Regions from separate parts of the Homo sapiens genome. Here region 1 is linked to region 2. The links are contacts of gene promoters, found by promoter capture Hi-C in blood cells and fetal thymus (Javierre and others, 2016). All regions are on one chromosome and are shown on one strand. Each heading gives the region's core, a stretch centred on a gene start or on the middle of the fragment in contact. The rest is flanking DNA. Distances are from core to core; before and after follow the strand shown. Region 1 holds the start of LMAN2 (lectin, mannose binding 2). Region 2 holds the start of PRR7 (proline rich 7, synaptic).

Region 1 (5,482 bases), core at 92-2,591, 95 kb after region 2:
GGGTTTCACCGTGTTGCCCAGGCTGGTCTGAAACTCCTGAGCTCAGGTAATCTGCTCGCCTCTGCCTCCCAAAGTGCTAGGATTACAGGCCTCAGCCACTGAGCTCAGCCGGAAGTCTGGATTTCTGATGTGAATGTACATATTCCGACTTTGTGTGTGTGTGTGTGTGTGTGTGTGTGTGTGTGTGTGTGTGTGACAGAGTCTCGCTCTGTCGCCCAGGCTGGAGTGCAGTGACGCGATTTCGGCTCACTGCAAGCTCTGCCTCCTGGGTTCAAGCCATTCTCCTGGCTCAGCCTCCCGAGTAGCTGGGACTACAGACACCTGCCACCACGCCCGGCTAATTTTTTGTATTTTTTAGTAGAGACGGGGTTTCACCGTGCTAGCCAGGATGGTCTCGATCTCCCGATCTCGTGATCCGCCGGCCTCAGCCTCCCAAAGTGCTGGGATTACAGGCGTGAGCCACCACGCCCAGCCTCTATATTCTGACTTTAAAATACTGGTAGTTAAGCCATTTATTAGAATATTGGCAGGTAAAACAGAGCTCTATTCAGCTGCAGGCCACCAGTTTTCGACCTCTGATTCACAGCTTTCCTGGGCCTTCCATGGACGTTACTTGCTGTACCAGGCACTGCGCTCTTTTGCATAGGGATGAGTTCCAGTCATCACTGGGGTCCCAGGCCAGGATCTGTGTCTGTTCCTCTTGCTTCAACCCGACTAGGCCTGAGGAGTTGAGGGTAGTGGAGGCCCTCAAATAATTGGGAATTCTGAGTCTCCAAAGGCGCGAAGCTGGGGCGCCTGACGGCAGGCACGGCTTAAAGGCTTGCCCAGGGCCACCCGGGGAGGACAAGGGTTGGAATGCAGGACTCCGCCTTCAATTCAGAGCTCCTTTCTCCAGGACTAGAAAAGGTTATTCCAGAGACGGGACTTGCGGCCAGAAGCCCAAGACGTCCTAGTCTTCGCGAATCCGCCCCATTAGAGCGACCGACAAAAACTACAAATTCCAGCATGCCCCGAGTCGCGGACGGCCCTCGCGCTCCCGCCGGCTCCAACCATCCCTCTGCTCCTCATTGGCTCGCAAGCCTAACGTGCTGTTCCGTGACTGGTTACAGCTCTTGTCGCTCGAAAGAACCCATTGCTGGGGCTGGCCGGCGTGTGCCTTGGAGCCTCTAAGGAGATGAAACTGCACTCAACCAGGATGAGAGGCTGCCCGGCCAATGCAGCTGCCGCCCCGTCTGCTGCGGAGGCTTTGCTTTTTGACTCCCTGGCGACAGTAAAGTTGAAGAGCTTCCGGCCGGAGGCCAATAGATGGGACCCCCGGAAGGCGGAAGTTCTAGGGCGGAAGTGGCCGAGAGGAGAGGAGAATGGCGGCGGAAGGCTGGATTTGGCGTTGGGGCTGGGGCCGGCGGTGCCTGGGAAGGCCTGGGCTTCTCGGCCCCGGCCCTGGCCCCACTACACCTCTCTTTCTTCTTTTGTTGTTGGGGTCTGTGACTGCGGATATAACTGACGGCAACAGTGAACATCTCAAGCGGGAGCATTCGCTCATTAAGCCCTACCAAGGTGAAGCCCTTGGGGCGGGAATGAGTGAAGAGTGAGGGCGAGGCTGAACAGGGCTAGGGGAAGGCGTGCCCTTTCTCCTGAGCAGAGCATCTCTGTGGGTTTCCTGCCTCTGGTGAGGCCAGTCCTGGCGTGGCCTCTTAGCACCTGTCTCTTCCCACAGGGGTCGGTTCCAGCTCTATGCCCCTCTGGGACTTCCAGGGCAGCACTATGCTCACGAGCCAGTACGTACGTCTGACCCCTGACGAGCGCAGCAAAGAGGGCTCTATCTGGAACCACCAGGTGAGTGGTTCTCAAGAGGATAGGCGTACTGTGCGGTTGGCTGCTAGTCCCTGCCTCCCGAGCAGCTGAGACCCCAGCTTCGTTTATAGGTTTGCACCTCCGTCCCTGGCCTTTTCCTCATCTCGGTCACACCCACCAATAATAAGAGGCGATGGGTATTGGGTACTTACTATGTGTCAGGAGCTGCGCTTGACACTTTACATCCTCCTCACTTTAAAAGCCATGCGAGATGAGTAATGTTATCTCCATTTTACCCACTGAGAAGCTAAGACTCAGGTTTGAAAGGGCCTTACCCAAAGTTACATAGCCAGAAAGTAGTGGAACTGTCAGGCTGTCTGCCTTGAACCCCCTCAGTAATGGGAAGAACCGAGCGAACTGGATCTTTATTGGGTGTTTTGCTGTGTATTAGGCACTGACCTTGCCATGCCTTATTGCATTTAATTTTCAAACAAGCTGTTTGAAATAGATGGCTTTCATGACTATACAAAGATAACCCAGCTAGCAAATGTCATAAACAGTATTTAAACTCTGATTTGTCTGATCTCTAAGCCCAGCAGTTCACTCGATGTACTTGACTCTTTTCACCTGGACAGTGGAGGAACCCCTTAGAACCCTTTTTGCAATGCTTGGTTGAGGGTCTTGTCATCAGTAGTGTGGAGGGACTGGACCTGTGGGCAGTTCTAGTGTCTGTGACCTTTGCCTCAGAGTATGTAGTATGTAGTATGTGAGCAGTGGCCAATGACAGCTGCTACACAGAATCCACACTGAGGCAGTCAAGGTGAGGAAAAAGGGGAAAGAAGAATAATTTGGGGCTGGGTTACAGCTTGGAGCGGGACCTGCTCCTGCCCCAGCTTGCCTAATCTCAGCCCTTCCCATGGCTTAAGCTGTTGGCCAGTGTTCTAGTTTTCTCCATCACCCTGCTCTCTGATCCCTGCTGGTTGACTTTCTTGTTTAGTTCTGGGAACCCACACTGTCCTTGTGTTGCCTGGTCTGCCCGTCCCCTCTGCTCCTCCTCTCCTTCCTGCCCCGAGCCTCCACACTGCTGTTAGTGGCATCTGCGGATACTTTCTTCAGCTTTCAGTCTGATCCTCAGAGCGTGGAGTCCCCTGTGAAGGGGTAAGCATGCATTATGTCTGCACAATCTGGCCCCTTGTGCATCTCCAGTCATTCTCTGTGTTAATTTTGTTCCAGCCCCCCCTGGCTGCCTTCTTGCCTCAGGACCTTTGCACCTGTTGTTCCCTCTGTCTGGGACACTGCCTCCTGGCTCCTCATGCCTGCTTGGTTCCTTCTCATCTGTTAAGTCTCAATTCAAGTGCCACCCACGCAGACATTTCTTCATTAACCACCCTATCTCCCCCGAGTCACATTCTGTCACATTCTGTCTTAGGGCTTTCAGATATTTTAAAGAAATGATAATTCAGCCTTATATTTTTCATGGAAATGAGTTCAGTATAGCATTATTATTATTTTTTGAAAGCAAGGTGCAAACAGTGCTGGAACTGTAGAAATCAGGAGTAGCCACAAGTAATAGACGCATCTAAGACAGTGGCTTACATTTTGGTTGTAGATAGCTGATGGTTGGCATCATCAGTGGCTCGAGGATGTCACAGGACTGAGAGGCTTCTGCACTTGCCTTCATCGAATTTTCAGTCTGGAGTACAATTGTTTTGCCTTCCTTCCTCCACCTTTCTATTTGGCTCTGCTGATATTCCTGAAACATTTGGAGTGCTTCCTGTAAACTCTGGAAAGAAATGGCTTGGAAATCAGAATTTTCTGTTCAGTGTTTCCCAAGAACTGCCTCTTCCTTTAATGAGCTGGAGAGATGCTTCCTAAACTTTTCCCTTTTTTATCTCCTTCATTCACTCCATCCGGGAGAGGCATGCACTCAGGCGAACATTCCCTGAACACCTGCTGTCTTCTGAGCAGCCATAAAATAGCTCCTGCTGTGGTGCAGGGGGGGTGGTCTAGATGAAGGAGTGGCTCAGAGTTGACTAGAACTCTTAAGTGCCTGGTGGCTGCAGCATAGGACCTGGGGAGGCTGCTCAGGCCCTGTCCTTTTGGGGGTCTTGTGCGGAGGCTGCGGCAGTGGTCTTTAAGCTTTCTTTGCTGTTGTAGCAACCTTTTGAAAAGTTGGCATCAAAAATTGTTTGTCATTAGGTTTAAGTATTTGCAAAGGATGACAGCATATTTTAAATATTGACATTTTAAACTAAAACTGTTCAGTATTTTAAACATTCAGTGGAATCTAAATATTGCAATTTGATATCCACTTTTTTTTTTTTTTTTTTTGAGACGGAGTCTTGTTCTGTCACCCAGGCTGGAGGGCAGTGGCGCAGTCTCGGCTCACTGCAACTTCCGCCTTCCTGGTTCAAGTGATTCTCCTGCCTCAGCCCCCTGAGTAGCTGGAATTACAGGTGTGCACCACCACGCCCAGCTAGTTTTTGTGTTTTTAGTAGAGGTTTTTTTTTTTTTTTTTTTTTTTTTTGAGACAGAGTCATGCTCTATCACCCAGGCTGGAATGCAGTGGTGCGATCTCAGCTCACTGCAACCTCCACCTCACGAGTTCAAGCGATTCTTCTGCCTCAGCCTCCCCAGTAGCTGGGATTACAGGCGCGCACTGCCATGTCCAGCTAATTTTTTGTATTTTTAGTAGAGATGAGGTTTTGCCATGTTTGCGAGGCTGGTCTCCGACTCCTGGCCTCAAGTGATCTGCCCACCTCGGCCTCCCAAAGTGCTAGGATTACAGGTGTGAGCCACTGTGCCTGGCCAGTATGTCAGTTTTTTAATTGAACTTGTACTTTCATTTCCACACAGAATATTATCCTAATGCAATATATTTAATGCTTGAAAATGTTATTCATTAGCCTACCATATTCTTCTGCAAGTAAAATTAATATAATAATTTAAACTTTTCAATTTTGTTGAGACTGAAACTTTTAATATTTTGTTTGAGATTATTATAATTATCTGTACACACTTGATAAAAGTAAATGCATTACACAGTTTTTGAGTAATTATACAAAAGTAAACATTTTTTGAAACATGAGATCTCAGTAGGATGTCACCCCCCACCCCCATCTGGATGGATAATACTGTCAGAATAAGACAAGTTCAGTACCACTTCTACTTTTTGTTTTTATGTACATGAATTCTGAGAAACTGTGTTCTCTTAAATAGTAGTTGGAGATGGGGTTATTTTTAAAATTTTAAATTTCTATTATAGATGGGATCTTACTATGTTGCCCAGTCTTATCTTGAACTCTTGGACTCAAGCAATCTTCCCACCTCAGCCTCTGAGTATCTGGGACACAGGTGCTCACCACCACTGTGCCTGGCACAGCGGGAGTTTTGGTAGAGCAGCATCACTGAATATTTTGATCTTCTTTTGGTTTATAAACCCAACGTCATGCAGTGATCTTTTATCAAAATTTTTGATGATGTTTCGGCTGACTGTTGATTACATCTGCATTCCGTTTCGTTGCAAGCAGAGATGTGGAAACTGCTGAACTGTAAAATAGCCTCTTATTGCCAGGTGATTCTGATGTAGTTGGCCTGGTGTAGGACCAAGGCATTAAGCTTTCTGAGCTCCCCAGGTGGGTTTGCTGTGGGTTAAGAACTGTGGTCATATCGTGTTTGTCCCCAAAAG
Region 2 (5,148 bases), core at 109-2,608:
AAACCCAAGGACGGTTGTGGTCGCTGGGATCCTGGATCTGAAGCCCGCGGTCGGGGCTGGCATCTGCTGAGTCAGGCCTGGGAGAGCTGGCAGGAGGGCCATTTCTCTCTCCAGCATGATGCCCGCTGAGGGGAGGTTGGGAGGGGAGCCAGAGGTCATTTCCTCTGAGTCAGAGGCCATTCTCCTCCCAGAGGAGCTCCCCTGGCGGACCAGGCACCTCCATGTGGCGCGTGCCTCCCTGCCGGCCAACCTGCATGCTACTCAGTACAGTTGGGGCATTGTGCTCAGACAAGAAAGGGGCACTTGTGATCCAGACAATGGGCTGGGTCGCTCCCATTTGGCCTGGGCTTCAGCTTCCCTGGGTCAGCAATATCCTTTCCTCTGCTCCTGCCCACTCTGCTTCCACCCCTCCCTGGAGAATGGTGGCTAGGAACACGGAGCAGAGACTCACCGCGGGCCCATGCCCGGTTTGGCACGTGCCTCGGCCGTGAGGAGGAGGAGGGATGCAAGCTTCGCTCCTCTACCCTGGTAAGAAACGTCGCCCCTGGGGAACCCAGCTCGGCTCAGGCCATGTCCAGGGCCGGCGCGATTAGGTGGTGGCGGCGGTGGGTGGGTGGGTGGGGGGTCTATGGGCAAAGACCCCAGCGCCAGCCTCCATGCCTCCTCCTCCCGTGACAAGCCCAGGGGCTGGGCCGCCCCCACGTTTGCAGCCACCCCAGGAGCCCTGCTGCGACGACTGCAGCCACGTGGGAGCCAGCTCGTGCCCACGGCCGTTCGCCCCCACCCCCACCCTCGACGGGCTGTGGAGGCAGGCACACCCAGCCGGGCCAGAGGGGCGACATGCCCCCGCCGCGCACCCCTCTCCCCCTGCACCCCCGGGCTGTGGGCCCGCGTCGGGGGAGGGGGGAGGGAGGGGGAGGGGGCGTCGCCGCCCCGCAGTCGTGTTGCCGGGGAGCGCAACCCCGTTGCTGTGGCAACCGTTTCCAAGCGAACTGGTGGCGGCTCGCGCCCCGTTCCGGCTCCCTCGCTCACTGGCGCTCTCCCTCCCTCCGGTGTGGACTGGGGGAGGGGCTGCTCGCGGCCCGGGCGGGGGACCGGGGCGGCGACCCGGGGCCAGGGCGCTGAGCCGCCCGCGGGGAAGGGCTCAGTCCTGGGACCATCTTCCGCCCGCGCTCCGTGCCCGCCCGGCCCGCAGCCGCCGCGGTACTCACGGGCCCAGGCATCCTCCTCGAGCTCGTTCTCCTGGCTCGGGGCGAGCAGCGCGGGCCCAGCGGACAGAGCCCCGGGCCTGCGGGGGGAGGCGGCGGCGGCCCGGGGGAGCAGACAGTGGCAGCGAAAGCGGCTCCGAGCGCTGGGCTGGAGGCGCGGGGCGCGCGCACGGGCGCGTACACGGCGGGTGCTGAGCCCGGCGTGCGCGCGCGCGGCAGCCGGCAGAGGGCCCCGCACCCCCAGCCACACGCCGCGAGGAGGCTGCCCCCGGAGGGAAGGAGGGGGAGGACGGTCACCCACCTGCGGCGCCGAGACCCGGTTCTCCAGCCCGCCGGGCTCACACCCGCCAGGGCACCCTCACAGGGGAGGCACACGCCGGCCGACCCGGTCCACACTCCAGGCTGGAGCCCAGGCCACACCGGTCGTGCACGCTGGATGCACAGCCAGGCAGCTGAGGTCGAGAACCCGGACGCGCACACAGCTCAGCTCGGAGAGCACACACATGTCCAGGTCCCCGTCACATCCTGACAGGCGCTGCGCACACGCAGTGGGCAGGGGCCCCCGAGCAGGCAGGCACCCCAACGTGGCTCCCTCCCAACTCACGACCCCTCTCGCTAGGTGCCCAGCAGGCGTACACCACCACATGCCTACTAGGAAGCCACGGGGAGGAGGACCTAGTGCCGAACCCACAGCCCTGGCCTCCGTGGACATGCCTCCCCCCTACCCCAGCAGGGAACAGATGACCCCTAGAGAGCGCCCCACTGTCTACCCCGAGGTCCAAGCTTGCAGAGGCCACTCTGAAGTTGGCTGTCCATCGGCCTCTTAACTGGGCTGTTTTTCGTCCAACTTCTCTACTGCACTTAAGATGATTTGCCAAAAACCCCTCCACCACCATATTAGCTGGAACATTTGGGGTTGAAGTGACAGAACTCCCAAACAAATAGGTTTGAGCTGTACCCCGTCTCTACCAAAAAAAAAAAAAAATCTGCACGCCTGTGGAGAATCGCTTGAATCCGGGAGGCAGAGGTTGCAGTGAGCCGAGATCACGCCACCGCACTCCAGCCTAAGGGAGGGGGTGAGACCCTGTCTCAAAAAAAAAAAGAGAAAGAAGAAAGAGAAAGGACAGAAAGAAAGAAAAATAAAAGAGAAAGAAAGAAGAAAGGAAAGAAAGAAAAGAAAGAAAAAGAGAAAGAAAAGAAAAAGCTTTGAGCTCAAAGGGGACTGGTTCATGCAACTGGCAAGTCCCAGGGTAGATTCTAGCTTTGGTCACAGTTGCTTCCAGGTGTTCCCGCAATGGTGTCAGGCACGTATCTGCTTCTGTTTGCATCACTCTCAGGCAAGCTCACCCCAAGAAGTAGCGAGGACAACCCCAACAGCCCTAGGCTCATATCCTGCCATCTATCCCTGGAGGAAAACGGAACCCCAATTCCTTCCCCATCATTTGAGCAAAATACAAGCAAACAACTCCATGAATGATTCTTTTTGGACTCATTTGGGCTGAGTCTCTATCAGTGAACCAATCTAAGTGCCTGTGTGTTAAGGGAGAGGATATGTGCTCCTTATGCAAAGGGAATGGCCTCCCAGTACCCGCTCCCTTTTCTTTGTATACAGGCACCCTGATTTCAATGGGGGAATCACTGCCCCACGGGTGCCATCCTGGTGAAACTGTGAACCCAAGTGCCCTGCTCCCTGACAGTGCACAGCAGGCAGGTATCCAGCCTGGCCACTCAGACTCCTTGAGTTTGCAACTGGGCTCAAAGAGGCAAAACCAAATGGCTCTATCATCTTGGTTCTGGTGGGTGTCTCCTGATGAGAATGGAGCCCACAACTAAGACCCCGAAGCTCCTCCATATCCTTGGAACACCTTCTAAGTTAGCGGGAGGACAGTTCTGTCACTTGCAACATTCCCACCTGGCTCTCTCACTCTAGGTATGTGTGTGGAGTATGCGTGTGCAGGGGGTGCAAGCCCAGCCCCGTCTAAACCACATGGACAGAGACTGGGGGTGCTTTTGTACATGCTGGAGCAAACACCCCAACACAACCAGTAAAAACCCTTCAGGGAATCCCCTACCTTCCAGATGAGGCCCCATCTGGGCCTTAACCCTGTGATCCTTAATCTAGCTTTCAAAGCTGGCTGTGTCTCACTGACTTCAGCTCCAGCCATTCCTTGCTTCCACCCCTGGCCTCCCATGCTCAGCCATCCTAAACCACTAAAGCCCTAGACCATCCATCTGGCTCCTCTACTTGGGTACATCTGACCCTGTGTCCTGGAGGGCACCAATTCTGACACCTTCAGGGTCAAGGGGCCTCCCTGTTTGGTGCTGCCCCACCCCCAACCCTGTCAGCTCTAGAATCCTCTCTTCCACAGTGCTGATCACACTGGGTCCCGCTGTTCCCACGTCTGCCTCCCTACCAGACTGAGCTCCAAGCTGCCAGGGGCCTCGTCTCCATCTGGGTCCCAGTTCCCACCATAGAGCTGGGCATGGAGGACAGCTCAGGGAAGCTTCTTGGGAAATGAATTCTGGGAGTTCCCTCTGCCAAGGACCCACTGTGTTAAGAGCTTTAAGGTGAGTTTAACCCTAGCCAAGAAGTTCCCTGGATGCCTCCCTAGCCCAAGGGGGAGCTGGCCAGGGTGTCCTGATCCAGGTGCAGGCAGAGTGCCTCAGGGTCCTGCACATCCACCTGGCACGCGCTCTCTTGCATACCTGCCCAGGGCTGGGCTTTGGTATGACATGCTAACACCTACCTAAAAATCCCCCACTCCCACCTCATAACAGCCTGGGGCAGAGGGGCAAACCCACCCCAGGCTCCTTTCTCATGATACATGGGTAGGATCCAGCTTTCCCATCATTACCTGGTTTCCTCCCCACCCTGCAATGGCCACTTAACCAGTTGGAAGACCTTGAGCAGGTCCCCACTCCCCTTACTTCCCTTAGGTTGGTGGGAAGCAGCAGGCACTCCACATGTCATGAGTGGGGCCACAAAAGGCCCCTTCTGCCAGGCTGCTGGCTTGGCACCTTCTGGCTGTGCTTAAGCCAGGTGGTTAGTTTGGTACTCAGCACCACTCCCCAGCAGGTGGGAGTCCTGCGGTGGCTTGGGAACTCAAGGGGCTGGCTGGCTGCTTTGGTGGATTCTCACAGCTGCCCAGAAAGGTGATGGGTCTTACACCTACCTTTCCATATCAGGGAAGCGCCTGTGCAGGGCCAACTTGAAAAGTGGCCAGGCTGGGGCTTGAACCTGGAACTGTCAGCTACAAAGCTCACATGGCTCCTGCAGCACTGGGTGCCCAGTCCAGAGGCCAGGAACAAGCTTGATGGGGCTTACGGGGCATTCTCAGGGAGCTGGGGACACTGGGAGTCTATAGAGCAGTGATGGGGTTGCCAGATCTGGGACAGACTGGTAGGCAACAAGCTCTCAGCCCCAGAGCCCAGGCAGGAAGCTCCCCTTGAGTGCCTCCCAGTCCCCCTTCCTCCCAGGTGAATGTCCACTTCGAGGCCGGCTCAACCACCGTCTTCAGAGAACTCTCCCACACTGGCCACAGCCTATCTGCCAGCGTCACCCACTGTCTAGGTCTTTGCCCATAATGTGTCAAGGGCAAAACAGAGGGGTGGATATGATGCACGTGCCTCAGCCCGGGGCCCGTACATGGCTGGCGTCCAGGTAACGCAGGCCTGGGGCAGACATTCCTTACACAGCTCCCACCCTACTCTTACGTCCACATTTAGGCAGCCAGGCCACCTTAGCCTTGGAGGGGAGGACACCAACGGGGCCCGCCTTACCAGCAGTCAGAAACAGACCCACATCCCAGTGGGTACCCAAGGCTTCTTTCCTTAGGCCCCATCCCATTTAGGAAGTTGGGAAACCCACTGGGTGAGCCCAAAGGCTACCAAAGCCTGGCTGTCTGGAGAGGCTAGTTCAGAGTCAGCCCTGGGGGCTCCT

What was found. The method cuts DNA at HindIII sites, captures the fragments that hold promoters and counts their contacts. A CHiCAGO score of 5 or more calls a contact.
Region 1: the fragment with the promoter of LMAN2 here is called in contact with the fragment with the promoter of PRR7 in region 2 in 1 of 17 cell types (non-activated CD4 T cells); the score reaches 7.7 in non-activated CD4 T cells.

What each region holds. Positions count from the first base shown.
Region 1 is chr5:177,347,527-177,353,008 of GRCh38, reverse strand. LMAN2 (lectin, mannose binding 2) reads left to right here and starts at 1,341. Exons shown (of 8, transcript NM_006816.3): 1 at 1,341-1,557; 2 at 1,718-1,836. The coding sequence starts at 1,362. RefSeq lists enhancers at 1,151-1,200, 1,211-1,400 and a silencer at 1,042-1,256. The HindIII fragment of the contact is 10,936 bases long and covers 1-3,935 here.
Region 2 is chr5:177,443,024-177,448,171 of GRCh38, reverse strand. PRR7 (proline rich 7, synaptic) reads right to left here and starts at 1,358. Exons shown (of 4, transcript NM_030567.5): 1 at 1,212-1,358. PRR7-AS1 (PRR7 antisense RNA 1) reads left to right here and starts at 228. Exons shown (of 3, transcript NR_038916.1): 1 at 228-528. RefSeq lists an enhancer at 73-701 and a silencer at 644-1,733. The HindIII fragment of the contact is 1,481 bases long and covers 513-1,993 here.